Regions from separate parts of the Homo sapiens genome. Here region 2 is linked to region 1. Evidence: promoter capture Hi-C in 16 types of primary human blood cells and fetal thymus (Javierre and others, 2016). All regions are on one chromosome and are shown on one strand. Each heading gives the region's core, a stretch centred on a gene start or on the middle of the fragment in contact. The rest is flanking DNA. Distances are from core to core; before and after follow the strand shown.

What was found. Contacts are between HindIII fragments. The CHiCAGO score rates a contact against its expected background, and 5 or more counts as called.
Region 2: a contact is called between a fragment that was not itself captured here and the fragment with the promoter of ENOX1 in region 1, in 1 of 17 cell types (naive B cells). The highest score is 5.6, in naive B cells.

The regions. Positions count from the first base shown.
Region 1 is chr13:43,784,765-43,789,705 of GRCh38, reverse strand. ENOX1 (ecto-NOX disulfide-thiol exchanger 1) reads left to right here and starts at 2,734. Exons shown (of 17, transcript NM_001347969.2): 1 at 2,734-3,054. The HindIII fragment of the contact is 7,995 bases long and covers 478-4,941 here.
Region 2 is chr13:42,586,348-42,591,288 of GRCh38, reverse strand. All of the region lies in intron 2 of TNFSF11 (TNF superfamily member 11), which reads right to left. Among named protein-coding and RNA genes, the nearest start is that of TNFSF11, 15 kb to the right of the region's middle. The HindIII fragment of the contact is 3,469 bases long and covers 485-3,953 here.

The DNA of each region.
Region 1 (4,941 bases), core at 1,485-3,984:
CTGTTGGGCCCGCAGAGGAGTGTGACAAAAGTATGTCCAGTTGTGTTGACAGGCTTCAATCTTTCTTCCTACGACGTGAGTTAGATTAATAAAAACTCAGGGAAGGCAAGTGCGTTCTTCTTTGGCAGATCTGGTTTCTAGGCAGATGAAAGACCTTCAGAGAACAATTTCATCCTGTGCTTTGGGTGAGACAGACGACTGAGAGACAGGAGGCAGAGAGAGGGTCAGAGAGACTTTGAGGCTGCTTCTTCAGTCCAGCATGTCAAAGTGCCATATTTTCCGGTATTAGTTTCTGAGCCCAACAAAACCCTAAAAGCAACTTTCTAAGGAAAATGAAGCTTTAAAATTGTTTTGGAAAATTCTGACTCATACCCATTCTATAGGTTGGCTGTCAAGGGTCCATTTTCGGTATCAGAGTTTTTCTGCTTCTTTTGCAAGTTTTAGAGCTTCCTTTCAAGTGAGAAATTTAAGTAAGCTTTCAACCTAATAAAAAAGCTCCAATATCACAACAAATGTCTTCTAAGAAGATTGTCAATTGAGTGAAGGTAGATAAATCAGTTAAAGGGACCCCCACTAAAGAACACACGGTACCCAAATAAATCCATTTTAATTTTCACTTTATTTCAGTTATATTTCACAGCTGTGGTATCATGAGTGGAGAGAGAAGCAGCTCATAGGCGGGCCTGAGTTCAAAGGAATTGAAATTTAGCATGAAATGCAAAATTGAAGACTTCTGCTTCTAAGACGATGATTGTAGAAATACCGAGGTCGAAGGATGTGGACTTGGTGCTACACCAGACAGCAGAATTAGCAGTCTGGGGTGACCCTGCATGTATTGGTCAGTGTCCATGAACACTACTCTTTACAGGAGAAAAATGCGTACCTGATAAGCTATTAGAAATGTGTATTTCTGGCCTGGAGCGGTGGCTCATGCCTGTAATCCCAGCACTTTGGGAGGCCGAGGCAGGCGGATCACTTGAGGTCAGGAGTTGGAGACCAGTCTGGAAAACATGGTGAAACTGTGTCTCTACTAAAAACTAAAAACTAAAAAAAAAAAAAAAAAAAAAAAAAAAAAAAAATTAGCCGAGCGTGGTGGCCGGCGCCTGTAATCCTAGCTACTAGGAGGCTGAGGCAGGAGAATTCGCTTGAACCCGGGAGGCAGAGGTTGCAGTGAGCCGAGATCGCGCCACTGCACTCCAGCCTGGGTGACAGAGCGAGGTTCCGTCTCAAAAAACAAAAAACAAAAGTGTATTTCTCTTAAAACTGTTTTCCCCATCCTTCTGCTCTAGAAGGGACAGTATAAACTGCTGGTGAACACTGACTTTCACATTTTGAGAGGTTAGGTTCTGAGCTTTGGCCCCCTCACACCCAGGGCATCCCACTGGGGTCCCTGCAGAGTGCTTCTACATGCATCCTTTGTTAAGGGTGCACAATGGATAAGTATTATTTTCTTTCTTTGCATTGGGGTTCTGACCGCCAGGGGGAAAAATAGCCACACACAAGGAAATGGCATAAGTTAAAATCAGGCAAGCCTAGTGGGGTGGTAATGACTTTCCCAGCATCCAAGTCTTTGCCTTCAGGTTACGTGAAGCTAGAAAACAATGTCATTCATTCAACATTTACAGGGAACTCACAAAGTACAGAGTACTATGCTAAGCACTGGAAGGCATGCAAAAGTGTGCAAAACACAATCCCTGCATTGAGGATTCCTGCCAGAAAGGGTATTTCAAGTATTACCCAGACCTTACGACCCTTGAAGAAATGCTTGTGTGAATAAAATCCCACTCAGAATTTAAAATAAGCAAGGAAAAGTATACTACTAAGACAATATATCTGTTAAGAGGCAGAGAATGTAAATGTGCTTTAAACATTTATTTCTGAAGTATTACAATGTAGTTGGGATGGAGGATCGGGGGATGTGGGTGTGTGTGGGGAGGTGGTGGGAGCGGTTCTTGGACGAGCCTGACTCTAAGGAGGCACTGCTTAGATGCCTGCACAGCTAAGTTGAATCCTAACAAAGAGGAGGCCGGCATTCTTACCTGGGAAGTGGGTAACTTTGAGAAAAAGTAGCCTCCAAGGAGGAAAAAAAGGCAACATGTCACCTGGGGTTAGGATCCCCTCACCCTTACCAACCTGAATGCTGACCGCACCCCGGCCGAGCCACTCTGGGCCGCACACCCCGCATCATCTGCCCAGGCCACGCGGCCCAATTCCACCGTCTACCCCAAGCCCACAATCCTGTAACACGCCCGCTCCAGCCTGGAGTCGGCCACGTGCGCCCGGGTTCTTCTCTTGGCCCTTCAGCGGGCCCGGCCCCTCCAAGGTCGCCGTAGCAACCGTGCGGTCCCTCTCTCGGTTCCCCCGCTCCCAGTAGAGCAGTCCCGACCGCGGCGGCGGTGGCGGGAGCGAGCGGCCTCGGCCCCTCCCGAGAGGGGGCAGCGCGACCGTGGGCTGCGGGCGCCGCCTCTGCTGCATCGGTGGCTGCGCGCTCCGCTCGGCTCTGCCGGGCTGGGATCCGGAGCCCTAGCGCGCCTCGCTGACTTCCCCTCCTCCTCTGCTGCCGCCCCGTGGGCAGCTTCTCCAAGCGAGACACGCGTTCGATCCTCCTTCCCCGCGTTTACGGATTTCCGGGGTCGTAGAATTTTGCCTCGGTCCCTACGAGCATCTCTCGGCCTCTCTCCCCCTCCCCTCGCGACTCCCCCACCCCGTGGGCGCGCGCGCACCCATACACTCACACTCGCAGGCGCGCGTGCGCACGCCCGCGCGCCTCCAGCCGCGGAGTCTCCAGCGCCCCTCAGCAGATCCCCGCTCTCCCGGGCGCCGCTACTCACACAGGCTTCCAGCCGCCACGGGGCGTCCTCTGTCTGCTGCAGCGGCGGCGGCAGCAGAGGGAACGGCGACTGCAGCCCGGCCGCGTCTCCCAGCTCCGTGCCCGGGACAGAGTCCGGGAGAAGCAAAGGAGGAGGAGGACGCCGAGGCTAGGAGGAGCCGCGCCGCGCCCGGCGCCCCACTCCGCGCAGCGGGTTGCCTCCGCTCCCCATACGGCGGCCCCAGGTAAGCAGCTCCGGGGCCCGCAGCCTCCCTGGGGCGTCCGGGCTCCGAGCCGGGGTCCTCTGGTCTCACCCCCGCCACGGCACCTGGATCTAGACTGAGAGGGGAGTGGGCGAGGGGGGAGGGGAGTGGAGCTAGAGGTGAGGCTGGTGAGGAGGGGTGCGTGGACGCGTGGGGGCTTCGGTGCAGCCCCCACGCCCTTCCCCGCCGTGCCCCGTCTCAAGCTCCCTCACTTTTACGCGCCCGGGGGTGCCCAGCGCCCCAGACAGCTGTTCCCCGCTCTCCCCTCCGCCCGCCAGCCAGTGTCAGCTCCGGGCTCCGCGCCCGCCGCGCGCCAGTCACCTCCCCTGCACCTTGGACAGCGCACCCCGCACCCGTCTCCCCCTGCGGGCGTCGCCCCCGGGACCCGTTCCTGCCCACACAGTGTTCCCGCTGCCCTCTTCTTTCAGGTTTTCACCCTCCCGCTCTGCATCCCTTTTCCTCCAGCCTTGGCGGACTCCGCTCTGCTGCGGGCCGGAAACTTTCCTCCCCGCCTAGTCTGCGCTGGGTACTGTTGTTATTCGTGACTGTCCCCTCTCGCGGGGAGCTCGGACACCTTGGACAGGTCTTCGTCGGCGGGAGCGCGCCCTGCCTGGCCCAACGCGAGGTAAAGGAGGCACTGGGGCAGCCGGACTCGGCCGCTGCCAGGGTGCAGAGCCCGCGCCTCGGCCGCTGGACGCCGGCCGCCTCCCCGCCTCTCCGGACCCGACACGTGCGAGCCTCCCACGGACGCGGCCCCTCCCAGACCACCCCACGTCCTCCCCCTGCACGGCCACAGCCACCCCATAGGTTGGACACCCGGGGCTCGCGGGTCCTGATTGGCTGAAGGCGTAACCCCGCCCTCTTTCGGAAGGGGGGTGGTTCTGGAGTGTTGTGGTTGTCATCCCGCGGCGAGCACATGGGGAAAGTGGGGTCGACAGGTGGGCAAGCCCAGCTCTGTGGAATCTCTGCGTCTCACTGTATAGCCACTGAGCCACGCTTCTTCACCCAGATACACTCCTGCTTCTCTCCTTTTCTCTCCCTCAATCTTTCACTGCTGTAACATTACATGAAAAAAACTGGCTTTGTAATCCCAATTTTGTTAAGATTGCATTTGTTTGGTGGTAGCAATTTTTAAAAGCAGACCCAGGAGAATGCAGGAAATACGTGCGTATGGAAAGGTTCCTGGCCAACTGGGCTGCAGATTTGAGTCTGGTAGTTTGGAGAAAGCAATGAAGCGTGCTTAAGGGATCTGAAGAGGGTGGAGAAAGTGGGAAGGAAATTGATTCCTGGAGGAGAGACGCAGGTGAGCGAGCTTGGAAAGCTGAGCTGGTGGGCCCGCTCGAGAGGTGGGTGCGTGCTGTTGGAGACGGCTCTGTCAAGCAAAGTGGTAATATTGGCTGGTACTTAGTTTATGGTTAACACACTCTGCTTTTGTTTTACTAGCGTTGCCACTTTGATAGAGACTTTATATTAATAATGTCTATTCATGTAATGGATATTGCTCATTCCAGTTTCTTGTAATATACAGATTTGAAAGTGATAATGAGTTTGAAAAAGTGAAAGCCCTCTTGGAGGAGATGCGTTAAACAGTTAAAGTGCTTTCGGAATATTGTGAGGGAAGACGGATGAGCATTGCATAAAATGCATATTGTTCTGGCATTATTTAGAGCCTTTGAAGAAATATATGTGTACGTATAAATGATACTGATTTCTCTTCATTTCAAAGCGTGATTGCCTCTAGCATTTTCCAGCTTTAATTCCTTCAGGCTGTTTTGATGTTGTGTCTGTACATCTAAGAATATTGTAATTCTTATCTTTAGAAGCCTTGTCAATGTGAAACAAACAGCAACTGATGCAAGTTAATGTTGA
Region 2 (4,941 bases), core at 970-3,469, 1.2 Mb after region 1:
CTCACCTTAAATTTGTAACTTAACATTCTGATCCCTATAATTCTTTATTTTTAATATAAAAGTACTGACTAATCAAATTCTCCCAAAGCCAAACTCTTGTCAACATGAATTCTACACACTCCGCACCACCACTACCACTGCACTCAGCCTCCTAATTGCTCCAGCTCCTACTGAATCAGCGGCCACCATCCCATGCCCATCAGTGAAAATTCTCAGTGAAAAACTTTACCAAGATGTGAGTTGGCCTCCTCCCCAAACCCCAAATACAGTCACTGGTGGATCATTTCTTCCAAAAGAAGTCTGCTAATTGGAAGAGACTCGTTTTTGCAAACAGTTCATGTCCTCTACCTACCAAAGAGCTAAAGAATAGCATGTCCTTGTTTTCATAAAGCAGACTGATGCTTTTCCTGGGAGTGCGATGGGTATGCTGGGAATAGAAAATTAGTTTTTATTGTTTAACCTTCATGGTTTAAATGAGAAAGCTTCTGCTACAGATAAAGGTCCCCTTGGGTTTTCATAAAGTAGTCTTATGACAGCAATGTTAGTCTTCATAAAGAGCCCGATTTTCAAATGTCTTATACTATACTACTGGTTTAAAAAGTGTCATCTAAAAGTTTGGCAGAGTAACTGCAGTGTGGCATCTTGGGCTAATTGTGCTATTTACCATGTCTCTGTTTTCCTCTGCCACTTGAAAAATAATGCCACCTTCCATTGGCAGTGCTTTCTACATTGACAAATCCTCATCTCTTCTGGAAAAGACTTTGCTCTCACAGACTTCTCCCTAAGAATGAGACGCAAAGGGGGTCAGAGATACCAGGCCAGCTGCTTTAGATCCATGAGGCCAGGAAGAAAAGGGCCAAGGCTACCAGTGAAGGAGCACCCCCAACCCCAAGGTCCCTAACGTGTTCACGCTCCAAAGAGGAAAAGAGCTCTCCTCTCAAAGAAGCAGGAAAACACTGAGCTTGCGAGTGACCTCCAGCCCCTTAAGAATCCTATGGATTGATCACATGGCTGGCTAGCTTCTGGCAATATTAAACAACTCGCCACCTGAGCACACCAAGTGTGCACACATAGGGCACAGGTCACTCACATATTCATTAAACTTGTTCTTTAAACTTTCACTGAGCACCAACTATGTGCTTGCCACTGGGGCTGGAAATGTAGAAAGGAAACATCCCACAGACCCTGTCCTTGGGAAGCTCACATTCAAGTGAGCCAGTTCACCCCAGGTCCGTGTGGTTACTGCTGTTACAAGAAGCCCCGTGTGGGCCCAGGAGGGGCACCTACCCCCACAGGTGGGTGGGCGGGCATCTGTGGGCTCCTCCTCCAGGAAGTAATGCCTGAGTTGGATTTTAAAAGACAATTAGAAAACCGACTACACAAAGAAGGGCATGGAGTGGCATACAAAGGACTATGCACAAAGACTCATCATTCATTCATCCATTCATCCATTCATCCATTCAACAAAGTTTACCGATGGAGGCTAGGAGTCAGGAGTCCTGTGGGTTTCTGAGGACACTGTTCGCAGGACAGACATGCCCTTTGCCCTCTCTGCACTTGCTGATTACTGCAGAGAGGCAGAGAGGCGAAAGGGTATGGCCAGGTCGGGAGAGTTCAGCACCATACTGTGGTGAGGCCGTGGAGTACAAGTTGCGATGGAGGCGATGACATGGAGCATTCAAGGTAACAAGCCTGAAGAGGCAGGGGCTGGAACGAGGCTTTCCAGAATACAGAGGACTTTTTGTTACATGTTCAGCAGCTCAGACTTCATCCTGACAACCACAGCGATCTACTGAAGGATGCTTTAAGCAGGAAAAGAAATGACCTGTTCAGATGTGCATTTTCGAAGTCCCTCAGCTATGGGAAGGATGGGCCAGTGGCAGTGAGGCCAGGAGGGGGTGGCCAGATGCAAGGATGCAGGCAAGAGAGGATGATGACCTCTGTTCATGTGACCACACAGTGAGCAGAGTAGAGACAATACTTGAAGGTTTTGTAAGGCGGTAGAATTCACAGGATGGGGGAGAGGTGAAGAGTGGGTGAATAAAAGGATAAGACCATCTTCTGACTTCCAGTTTGGGGTGGTGGAGATAATGGTATTGTCATTCACCATGAAAAACTAGATCAAATGAGAAGCAGCCACAGGCACTGAAGAGAAGAGTTCTGAGTGCTTTCAAACTTTTTGATGAATATGAGCCTTAGGGTTTATCATTATGATGATTATTTTTACTGGTACCACCACCACCACCGCCGCCGCTACCTAGTGTTCTTGAAGGGCAAAGACTGAGGACAGGAGTAGCAGCCTAGTGATGCAGAAGCTAAGTGAGAATGGAACTCCCCAACACCCTGAACTTCCAAAAGTTTGAGCAAGCATTTGTTGTCTGGTCATCTCAGAAACAGACAGCTCTTGACAATTTCCGGGACCCACCTCTTTCATACCACACAGGCTTCACACTCCTTCTCAAATATAGTCACTTCATTCACCATGGCTTCCCTGTCCACCAGTGGCTCTCACCTCTTCCTAGGATGCTTTGAAGAAATCACAGAGTCCACCCCTGAACTGCCAAATCAGAGTCCCCACTGATAGATCTGGAGGACTTTTCTCTTCTCTTTTTAAAACAAGGGCCCCAACTGAGTCTTAAGATCCAGGAGGTTTGGAAACACTGCTCTAAGGCACATCCCGCTCTTCAATTACACAGGCTGTACCTCTCCTGCCGCTGCTGGTAGAACAATCCAATCTATCCCTTGCTGTCATGCTCTCCAACCAAGGACCCTCAGTTTCATCCACTTCTGGAAGGTTAGCCCAAGATCCCAGGCCACATAATGAAGGCTCCTCTTTCAAGCATGTCCTTCCAGCTCTCTGTTTCTTTAAAGATGTCATGCAGAATATCTTTTCTTCCATCCTGGGGTACTTGTAACACAAAGAAAAGCCCACCTCTGACATAACTCACCGGTTATTTTCCTCTTGCAAACCCTCCTGCTTCCTACCTTCTTCCCTGGGTCTCCCCTGAAATTGAGTACAAGCCAATAACTTATTGTTGAGCTAAAGCCAATAGATGGCCTTGGTTTTGTAGGAAAACTCTGTGGGTCTTACTTCAGCTTTCCCATAAAGACAGCTTTTATAAACGCTAAATGTGATTGGGGTTGAATTGCAGTTTCCAAAACTATTATGGCAAACAGAGATGAAATCCTATTGGAAAACCACTACATGACTAACATCGTGACTTGGGAACATGAGTGCTCCAAAAACCAAGTACCCTTGTGGGTTTATGAGAAACTTTCTTCGGACACATACTCTTGTATACAAAGGGAAAGAGGCAATGAATGGGGTTTAATCCCTCCTCTCCTTTTTTTAACTAATAGGCAAATGAGAAATAGTGGCATATAACAACTTCAATGATTACAGTTTCACAAGCAGTTACAATCTATTTAAATTTCATTGATTTCTTATTTACATTAGTTCAAAAATAGGAATGAGCTCCTTATAATAATGGAGATTGCAATCCAAGGGGATCTGTTTCCCATATGTAGAAAACACAATCACTTAATCTGGTGAACTTTCTAGTTTTTAATTAATGCTCTTTTTAATCTACAAAACCTAGCAAAAGCGGTGCAGGTGACAATCAAGGTTTATTCCACAATCACAGATGCAATCTCTAAACAGACCTTTGAAACTTCCTCAAAAAGATGAATGCTGTTGAATCTACTTTCAAATTTCTCTCACTCTCTTGCAATCTAAATAATCCCAAAGTATTTTGACCTTTTGAAAATACAATCTTGACCATTAAAATTTTTAATAGACTTATGTGTTCTCAGAGTTAACTCTTGCTTATATATGGTGAGTCCTCCTTCCTACCTAAATGGGGTTTAGTGAATGTCAGAGACTGCTCATTGTCCCCTCATCTCCTTCCACTCCTTTTTGCCTATTAGTTATAGGCAACTCCCTTCCTCAAGCTTTGTGGACAAATGGCTGCTCAGCTAGAGACTACCTTGTCCAGTCTCCCTTGCAGCAAGATGTGGTTTATGAGTAACTTCCAGCCGATATGATGCTACTGGAAGTGATGTCTCCACTTCCAGGTACTGTCTTCAGTTTTCTTTTACCCTTCCCCTATCTAGAAATAACAGCAAATGGAGAAGCCAACTTAGAAACAGAGATGGAAGGTTCATGCTGAGGACAGAGGAGCATCCCTACTGGTCCTGGATGACTCACGTCTGGATTGTTATGTGAGAGGGAAAAAGTTTCTTAGTTAGTTCACTGAATGGATGGGTCTGTTTGTTACCCAGCTCAGACTATACCAAATAACAGCAAATACTTCATTGAGGATCAAAGTGCTACAAATCTTTGGGTATATTAATCTTAATATCAGAGGATATTGTGAATTCTGAATTCTACATTATGAATTCTGAAGATGAGGCCAAATAGGTACCTGATTCCCAGGGAATAAAAAAGAATTTCAGGTAAGAATGAATTGTTTAATAATTATGGCTCCCTGGTCTTACTTCCTGTTCTCCAGTTAAGTCTTTAGAGACTCAAAGGCTTATACTCCAGGGAATGGTTTGTTGAGGATATGACAACAAGATAACTTATCAGCAGTCATTACAATACCATTGGCTTTTCATATTTTGGAGGGAAGTTAGAGAGTTTTATAAAATTTAACTCATATATGGAGCCAGAATCATGTTTTTAGTTCACATTATAAGCCCACCTCTACATAGCAGTCAGGTTATGCAGAACAAAGAAGCCTGATGAAAATGTGACTGATGTGAGAGGGCCAGCTGGGGGTAACTTCTAACAAAAATAAACCTGTGTTATTATTGTACTGAAGCATTACTGCCTCAGGCCATAATATTCCTAATTATCAATTGTAGGACTGGTAAGACAGCATCGTATAAATAAGAACAAGGCTTGTAACATTCTGAATGGCTTTATGAGTTCGTTGATGT